2 separate regions of the Homo sapiens genome follow, and region 1 is linked to region 2. Evidence: promoter capture Hi-C in human tissues and cell types (Jung and others, 2019). All regions are on one chromosome and are shown on one strand. Each heading gives the region's core, a stretch centred on a gene start or on the middle of the fragment in contact. The rest is flanking DNA. Distances are from core to core; before and after follow the strand shown. Region 1 holds the start of NSMF (NMDA receptor synaptonuclear signaling and neuronal migration factor). Region 2 holds the start of C9orf163 (chromosome 9 putative open reading frame 163).

Region 1 (4,162 bases), core at 271-2,770, 980 kb before region 2:
GGCCACCTTGGAGGCGGGGGTGGGCATCTGTGGCCGGTTCTGCCTCTGAGTGTGGCTATGCTGGGTACGGTCCCTTCCTTGGGAGGGGACTGACGCAGCCCTACCCTCGGTGCCAGACGAATCTGACTACCAGACGGAGTACGAGGAGGAGCTGCTGGACGTCCCCAGGGATGCATACGCAGACTTCCAGAGCACCTCAGCCCAGCAGGGCTCAGACTTGGTGAGGAGCTGGGCATGGTCCCACCTGGTGCCCACAGCTGAGCCTTGGTGCCTGGCCCTGTGCCGGCCACTCCCTCCCTGTGGTCCCACCGGGTTACCAGCGCTGCAGAGCCCCTGCCCTGCCTGGTCCTCACCTGGAACATGCGGTCTGCTTGCAGGAGGACGAGTCCTCACTGCGGCATCGACACCCCAGTCTGGCTTTCCCAAAACTGTCTGAGGGCTCCTCTGACCAGGACGGGTAGAGGCCTCTGCTAAAGAGCCCGGATGCAGCGTCTTCCGTGGGACTGTCCCCAAGGCTGAGGCTCCTGCCAAGTCCTAGGGGCCTCTGTACCTGCCCTGCTGGAAGCCCTGACTTCCCCGGGGCCCCAGGCTGTGTTAGGGTTCTCTGGGCCTCTTCTTTGTACCAGCAGCCCTGCATACAGGGCCCTGTGAGCCCCCCTGCAGTCCTGTGAGGCCCCTGAAGCTCTGTGAGGCCCCTGAAGCTCTGTGAACCCCCTGCAGCCCTGTGAGGCCCCCCGAAGCCCTGTGAGGCCCCCCGAAGCCCTGTGAACCACCTGCTGCCCTGTGAGGCCCCCAAAGCCCTGTGAACTGCCTGCTGTCCTGTGAACTGCCTGCTGCCCTGTGAGGTGTGGGAGCCCTGATGCTGCCGTGTGATGTTTCAATAAAGGTGGATCTCACTGTTGGACGTGTCTCCCGGGCCGAGGTCCCTGTGGCAAAGAAACACTACTGGTTCTCCCTGATGCGGGTGGTCCCTGAGGCTGGGCAGTCCCCAGTCCTCCTCAAAGGACCCCACTGCTGGGGCCTGAGAGCCCTAGGGCGGCAAATGCAGGCCAGGCAGGTAGGGCGTCCAGAGTCTGCATAGAGCTGTGGCCCCCCAGGACCAGGACGGGCCCCTCTGTCTCTCTCTGGCCTCGTGCAAACTGGGTGCCCCCTAAACTGGCTTCCCCTTCGGTTTCCAGTTCCCAAACTGCACAGGGAGCCCTTTTGTGTAAGGGGAGGGAGAACCGGCCTCCCTGTGATCCTGCAGGTCTGAGCAGCAGATCGTGAGGGCCGAGGGCCCAGGACTTTGCGACCAGGGGGCCGCTGGCCTCAGTTTCCCCGCTCTGGAGGCCTGGACGAGAGGGCGCGGAGCCAGGCCGCCCGGCCCCGCCCCCAACTCAACCCGGGCCCGGACGTCACGGTGGGCGGGGCCACATGTCCTCTCCGAGCTCTCCGGGGCCCTGACGTCACGGTAGGTGGGGCCGACCGCCCCTCTGGGCCCGCCCGGGCCCTGACGTCACGATGGGCGGGGCCGGCCCTCGGTTCGGGCAGCGCTCTCCCGGGAGCGGCGGCACGCGCGGAGCGCCGGGTGCGGCCATGCGGGGACCGGGCCCGACCCCGAGCCCGACCCCGAGCCCAAGCCCGAGCCGGAGCCCGAGCGAGACCCCGAGCCCGAGCCCGAGCGCGACCCCCGGTGCGGCGCGGCTACCCCGGCGGAGGCGGCGGGCGCGGGGCGCGCTCTGAGGCCCGGGGGATGCGCCGCCGCCTCGACCATGGGCGCCGCCGCCTCCAGGAGGAGGGCGCTGAGGAGCGAGGCCATGTCCTCGGTGGCGGCCAAAGTGCGGTGAGTGCGGCGGGGCCGCCTTCCCGCACCCCGCCCTGGACCTCCGACCCCGCCCGAGTCCGCCCCTGCCCCGCGGTGCTCCCCGGGCTCCCGGGCCCCGGCCTCTGCCACTGAGGCGCCCTCCCCGCGCCCCGCGCCTCCCTCTTCCTGGTCCCCTGCCCTGCTCTTCCCTCCCCTCCCCTCGCGAGCGCGTGGTGGGCGAGCGCACCCCCCAGGTCGGGAGTGGCCTCGGTTCCCCCGGGGAACAGCAGCCGACCGGCCTCGCGACCCCTCTCCACGGTCCGACGGGCAGGGGCCGGGCCTGCAGGCCTGGCCAGGGCGCACCAGGACCAAGGGTGTGTGGGCTCCCGGAGGGGGACGACCCCGACCCTCCTTCCAGACGCCGAGGGCCTGGCTGGGGACCGGACCCCCGGCTCTTGCGCGGCCCGGTGTTTGGGAGGGTCGTGCCGTGGCCTCTGACCGTGCCCTCTGTCCACCCTCAGAGCAGCCCGAGCGTTTGGAGAGTACCTGTCCCAGAGTCACCCTGAGAACCGCAACGGCGCAGGTAGGGGCACGCGAGGCCGTGCCAGGGCCGCCCAGACCCCCCAGCCCAAGGGATGCTGATCCCTGCCTCCGGGGGTGGAGCGTGAGGGGCATTGGTTGCGCGTGGGCCCGGCGCCCTGCCGGCCTGGCTTCCTTACATCCCCTGCCCTCCCTGCCCGAGCCCCAGGAGCAGTTCCCAGCCGCTCGTCACCATGGCACCCACCCCGCCTGGGCCGTTGGCATGGCAACAGGCCTCCTGGCTCCCCCAGGGCTGGCACCACTGCCTCTGGGGGCCAGCTGGTGGGGGGAGGGGGAAGTTGGCACCAGGCAAACGGTGCGATCGCAGGCTGGGGGATGGCCTGCGTGTTCCTACCCGGCAGGACCGCACACAGGTAGCACAGCGTCACCCAGCCCCCACGCACATGCTAGAGCTTCAGGCCCAGATAGGAGTGAGGGGCTCAGAAACACGCCAGTGACTAGGGTTTGGGCAGCCCTAGTCCCCCACAGAGGCCAGGTGCCCACTGGGTGTTCTCTGCCTTCGGCCTGCTATGAAACCGGCAGCGGGGGGCCCACACGCGGCAGGCAGGCTCACTCAGTGTCTCTCCTAGATCACCTGCTGGCTGATGCCTACTCTGGCCACGACGGGTCCCCCGAGATGCAGCCGGCCCCCCAGAACAAGCGCCGCCTGTCCCTCGTCTCCAACGGCTGCTACGAGGGCAGCCTCTCAGAGGAGCCCAGCATTAGGAAGCCCGCAGGCGAGGGCCCTCAGCCTCGAGTGTACACCATCTCTGGGGAGCCTGCCCTGCTGCCCAGCCCTGAGGCGGAGGCCATTGAGCTGGCGGTGGTGAAGGGGCGGCGGCAGCGGCACCCTCACCATCACAGCCAGCCCCTGCGCGCCAGCCCTGGTGGCAGCCGGGAGGACGTCAGCAGGCCCTGCCAGAGCTGGGCGGGCAGCCGCCAGGGCTCCAAGGAGTGCCCCGGATGTGCCCAGCTGGCTCCTGGCCCCACCCCTCGGGCCTTTGGGCTGGACCAGCCACCTCTGCCTGAGACCTCCGGTCGCCGCAAGAAGCTGGAGAGGATGTACAGCGTTGACCGTGTGTCTGGTGAGGGGTTTGTGTCAGGGCATAGACAGGTTTGGGGGTGCATGCCGCTGCCAGGGTCTGACAGCAGCAGCCACTGTGAGGCTTGGAACAGAGAACAGGTGCTCAGGTCACAGCATGCCAGCGGACTCAAGATTAAAACCGGCAGGCTTCTGCTGCGGCCTCCACACCCTATGAGCTGTGAGCTCCCTCAGCTCCTCAGCAAAATCTGCCAGGCCTCACAGTCCGCTTTCGCCCTGCTAGCACCAGGTCAATCAAGGAGTGCTTCCTGGAGGAGGGGGCCTGGGAGGATCTTAAGGGATATGTAGGGAGGAAGCACCGCTTAATCAGGAGACTGGGCTGCCCTCCGAGAGTCCTGGGGAGCTGTTGGGGCCCAGCCAGGCAGTGGGCATCTTTCCCCAGGGTTGTTGAGTTGTGTGGTAGCTTGTCCACCAGGCAGAAAGTCACTCCACTGTCCCCACACTTGGGCATCAGGGAAAGGCTGTGGGGGCCCTCGGAAGGGGACAGCCCTCAGCAAGGTGGTCTCTAGCCTCGGTGAGGGCCTCCAGCTAGAGCATGGGGGCTGCAGAGAAGGCCTCAGAGCCTCTTCTGCCCAAGGGAAACAGACGCATTGTTTTCCTGGGCCTCCTGGAGACAGACTGTGCTTTCAAAGGAATGTTTCTCAAACTTTGGGTGGCCAAAGGGAAAGTTAAGCCAAAAAAATCAAAGCGTCAAGTTA
Region 2 (4,301 bases), core at 283-2,782:
GAGGACCCTAGAGGGTCGAGCCCTGGGCTCCTGGCTCTTGGGTTCTTTGAACTCGCGAGCGGCAAAAGGCGAGCCCCACGCCTGAGAGGCAGCATCCACCTCTGCATCCCCCTCTTTGGAAAGGGCAAACAATGACACCTCCTTCCGCGGAGGGTGCAGAGCGCCTCGACCACTGGGAAGAAGCAGATGGGGGCAGCGGGGCTGGGGCTGGGCCCTACCACGTGCTCCCTAACTCTGTTCAAACAGGTCAGGAATCTGACTCCTGAAAGGCAAATGTTAGCTGAGCAGATTGGCCCTGGTGCCACGTCAGCCGGACTGAAGCTCTCCCTGCACCGCCTGCGGCCCTGCTGGCGTGGCACGGATATCACCCCCTCCCTCACCAGCCGCCGGCCCAGCTGGGGACAAGGGTGGCTCCCACCCAGGGAGGACCTCAGCCGCTGCTGGGAGCTCAGCCTCCCGCGATGCCATCGGGCGGGCACCCCCACCACGGCGCCTGCCCTCTGGAAGGAGCAGCAGAGGAAGGCCGCGGCTCTTCCCTGCCCTTGCCAGGCAGGTGTGCAGGTGAGTGGGCCCGGCATGGCTGGCCGCTTCCTCAACCGCTCAGCCTCCCTCGGCTCCTCCGAAAAATGAGGGCACAGAGGATAGTGCCCACCTGTTCCCTGCGATCTTCCGCGGGAGGGCGTGGATGCTGCCTGGCCTGGCCGTGGCAGGCACAGGAGCGCCTACCCGCCTCACCCCTCCGCTGGGTCGCTCTGGCCGCCCGAGCGCCCGGGCCCACTCGCCACCGACGTGCACTCAGCCAAGGCTGGGACCCCAGCGCCCCTGTGGGGCTGGCGGCCGGGGGAACGAACCGAGTAGGCCGCACCTCCCCGGGAGGACAGCAGGGCTGGGGCCAGGGTGGGCCTGGGAGGGCCCGGCGCAGCAAAGGCGCAGGGCGGAGCTTGGGGACGAGGAGCCCGCGCGTCCCCCTTGCGAGTCGGCGGACACCCGGCTCCGCGCGGTGGCCGGGCCGCCCCTCCCTGCCCGGGCCTCTGTGCAGAGCGAAGGGACAGTAGAGGATGCGTCGGGGAAACCCCAGGACGCTGGCCAGGGACTGGCGGCAGCCATCGACCAACTTCCGGCGCCGCTCGGTGCCCGCGGCCACGCCGTAACCAGGCAACCAGCGCGCAGGCGCAGTCGGCCCTCCGCGTCCCGCAGCTCCGGCCGCTCCCGGCGCATGCGCGGCCGCCGCCGCCTGCCCTCCAGCCTCCCAGCCCAACGGAAGAATGCGAGGAGCGCGCCCGCGTCAGGGCCCCGCGCTTCTCAGCTGGGCGGAGTAGCCGTTCTCGGTGCGTGAGCCTGCTGGCATCGGTCCTGCAGACTGATTTCCCGCTTGTGGCCTTGATTGAAGAATCCCATCTCTTCTCACATCTTAAAACGAAAAAAGACTGGGAGAAAGAGCCAGCGTAAACAGGGCGACGTACTGGGACGGCCCCGGCGCGCCTGGCCGGGCAGGTGGCGAGGGGCGGGGCCAAGCGGTGAGGCGGCAGACGGACGCCGGAGGGGGGCGGGGCCACGGGCGGGGAAGGACGGCCGAGGGGCGGGGCCAAAGGGGCGGGAACGACAGGATGAGGCGGAGAAAGACGGACGACGGGCGGGGCTAAGGGGGCGGGACGAAAGAATGAGGCGAGGAACGACGGAAGAGGGGCGGGGCCAAGGGGAGCGGGAACTACAGGATAAGGCGTGGAAGACGGGCGGGGGGCGGGACGAAAGAATGAGGCGGGGAAGAACGGACGCCGGCGAGGGGCGGGGGCAGAGGGGGCGGGACAGAGGGATGAGGCGGGGAGGACGGACGCCGGCGAGGGGCGGGGCCGAGGGATGGGCTGTGAAGGGCTGAAAGAGAACGCGTCTGGGCCGACGAGCCGAGGGGCGGGGCCAGGGGCGGGGCGCGCGCTGATGTCGTAAGCCGGACACGTCGGCGGCGCGGCGGCCGCGGAGACCCGAGCCGGATGTGCCAAGATGGCTGCGGCGGCTGAGGTGTCTGTGCTCGTCGCCAGCGTCGGGTGGGCTTTCGCCCGCGGCTCCTGAGGGATCGGTCTCAGCCGCGCGGGTGAGGGGGCGAGCGCGGGTGAGGGGGCGAGCGCGGGAGGAGGAAGGCGGAGGCCGGCCGGCGGAGCCAGGCCGTGGAGGTCGGGGCGCGGAGGAGAGGAGGCGGCTGGGCCCAGCCCCGAGCGGGCGGTGCATCTCGGGTCCCGCCGGGGCCGGTCGAGGGGACAGACGTCCGGGCCCCCGGGCCAGAGCGGAAGGCCGGACGCGGCGCGGGCCGCCGTGGGACTCGAGGGACTGACGTGGACCCGGCTGGGCTGCGGTGACGCCGGTTCCCGGGGCGGGAGGCTGGACCCCCAGGCACCCCTCGTAAGACTCTTAACTTTTCAAATGAGCGTGTCTTGTCCTCACCGGCTAGAAGGCTTCCTTAGCGATGCTGGTGAAGAGACACATTTACATTTGAACCAAAGAGCAGAGTTGTTTGTTTGTAATTTCTTGATTGGGCGATCAGGATGTTGCAACAGAGGCCGAGGGTTAGAGGAGTGTGTGTGATCCGGCTCGCCCCTTTGTGATGGAAGTGTTACAGTAGAGCCTTCAGAAACATCAGAGCCATTTAAAGTCAGTTTTTGCCGCTTAAGAACACTTTTAAATGGCTTGTAAGTTGGGTGTGGATTGTATATTAAGATTTTGTTTTACATGTGTGATGCCGATGTTAACCAAAGAGGTATTTCCCATCCCCCATGTGGCAATACGAAGCAAACGGAACCGCAGACGGTTCTTCCTAGAAGTGATACTTTTGCAAGTTTCAGCACAATGCAGCCTCCCTGCGTTTTTTCCTCATCCCCTTTCTTAAGTTTCAGGTGCTGGTATCTTGTAGACAAGAGGCAAAATAGCGTGTCTTTCTTGTTCCTTGTTCCTCGTTTACTGTTAATAGTGGTTACTACAGTGAGTCTCAAAATTGTACTTAAAGTTTTCTTTGAGGCAGTGGGCACTTTTTTTTTCTTTTTCTTTGTCTTTTTTTGCCAAATCCAGCAAGAGGTCATGGTAGTGGGTAAATGTTAATGTGATTTCTTCTTCTGTAAGCATCTTTCATGAATACCAGGGTCTTCGTCATTTTCATCAGTGTTAGGCTGCTGGCCTCCTCTGTCGCTGGCTTCCTCTTCAACATCTAACTGTATGTGGTTGCGATTCTAACTTAGAAGAGTTGGAGTTGATCATGTCTTTGTGTCAAGCATCCCACAGTCTGACAGGGCGTCACTAGCAGCCACCGTGAGGGAGACTGTAGGCAGTAGGTAAACTCAGGGGCTTCCTGGCACACTATTGTTTTCCTCACTTAAAATATGAAGCCAGTGGCAGCAAGAGGAGAGGGGTGTGCATGCATTTTAAATGCCTCAGTTCTGTAGCCAGAACTGTACTAAAAAGAGTTTTGCTTAGGTATCCACATGGTTACAAGGCAGTTTAACTGACTAGCTAGGTTTATGAATACTGCATTTTCAAGATCAGCTGGCCTCTTTGGAACAATAAAAGAATTAGATGACTTGAGGTTACAGAATAAAATTCCCTGGGCCGGGCGCGGTGGCTCATGCCTGTAATCCCAGCACTCTGGGAGGCTGAGGCGGGCGGATCACGAGGTCAGGAGATCGAGACCATCCTGGCTAACACGGTGAAACCCCGTCTCTACTGAAAATACAAAAAAAAATTAGCCGGGCGAGGTGGCGGGCGCCTGTAGTCCCAGCTACGCTGGAGGCTGAGGCAGGAGAATGGCGTGAACCCCGGGGGGCGGAGCCTGCAGTGAGCCGAGATCGCGCCACTGCACTCCAGCCTGGGTGAAAGAGCAAGACTCCGTCTCAAAAAAAAAAAAAAAAAAAAAAAGAATAAAATTCCCTGTAGTGGTGACATAGGTGATAGGCAGTTGCATTGTTTTTCTCCTGGTGAGTAGAGAAAAAGATCAAAAAAATCAGTTCAAGTCACAAGATTGTTCCAAATGAAAGTGGCATGTTGCTAAAAAGCTCTCAATTAGGGAGCATGAAGGTTGGAATGCTCCTTGTAAGTGATAATGTTTGCCATAAAAAAGCTCTTAGTCTAGGAGAGCTGCGGAATAATTTTTTTTTTTTTGAGACGGAGTCTCGCTCTGCCCAGGCGGGAGTGCAGTGGCGCGATCTCAGCTCACTGCAAGCTCCGCCTCCCAGGTTTACGCCATTCTCCTGCCTCAGCCTCCCGAGTAGCTGGGATTACAGGCGCCCGCCACCACGCCCGGCTAATTTTTTGTATTTTAG

Evidence for each region. The method cuts DNA at HindIII sites, captures the fragments that hold promoters and counts their contacts. A contact is called where the count stands out against the background at its distance.
Region 1: the fragment with the promoter of NSMF here is called in contact with the fragment with the promoter of C9orf163 in region 2 in 1 of the 25 tissues and cell types used here (dorsolateral prefrontal cortex).

The regions. Positions count from the first base shown.
Region 1 is chr9:137,456,692-137,460,853 of GRCh38, reverse strand. It overlaps NSMF (NMDA receptor synaptonuclear signaling and neuronal migration factor), which reads left to right and starts at 1,520. Exons shown (of 16, transcript NM_001130969.3): 1 at 1,520-1,822; 2 at 2,305-2,366; 3 at 2,953-3,447. The coding sequence starts at 1,752. It overlaps PNPLA7 (patatin like domain 7, lysophospholipase), which reads left to right. Exons shown (of 35, transcript NM_001098537.3): 34 at 117-220; 35 at 378-902. The coding sequence ends at 461. RefSeq lists silencers at 1,290-1,639, 1,730-1,999 and an enhancer at 2,639-3,336. The HindIII fragment of the contact is 38,119 bases long and covers 1-4,162 here.
Region 2 is chr9:136,480,726-136,485,026 of GRCh38, reverse strand. It overlaps C9orf163 (chromosome 9 putative open reading frame 163), which reads right to left and starts at 1,532. Exons shown (of 1, transcript NR_172629.1): 1 at 1-1,532. It overlaps SEC16A (SEC16 homolog A, endoplasmic reticulum export factor), which reads left to right and starts at 1,987. Exons shown (of 32, transcript NM_014866.2): 1 at 1,987-2,089. RefSeq lists silencers at 875-1,304, 1,455-1,634, 1,705-1,814, 2,045-2,364 and enhancers at 604-1,348, 2,094-2,839. The HindIII fragment of the contact is 5,654 bases long and covers 1,222-4,301 here.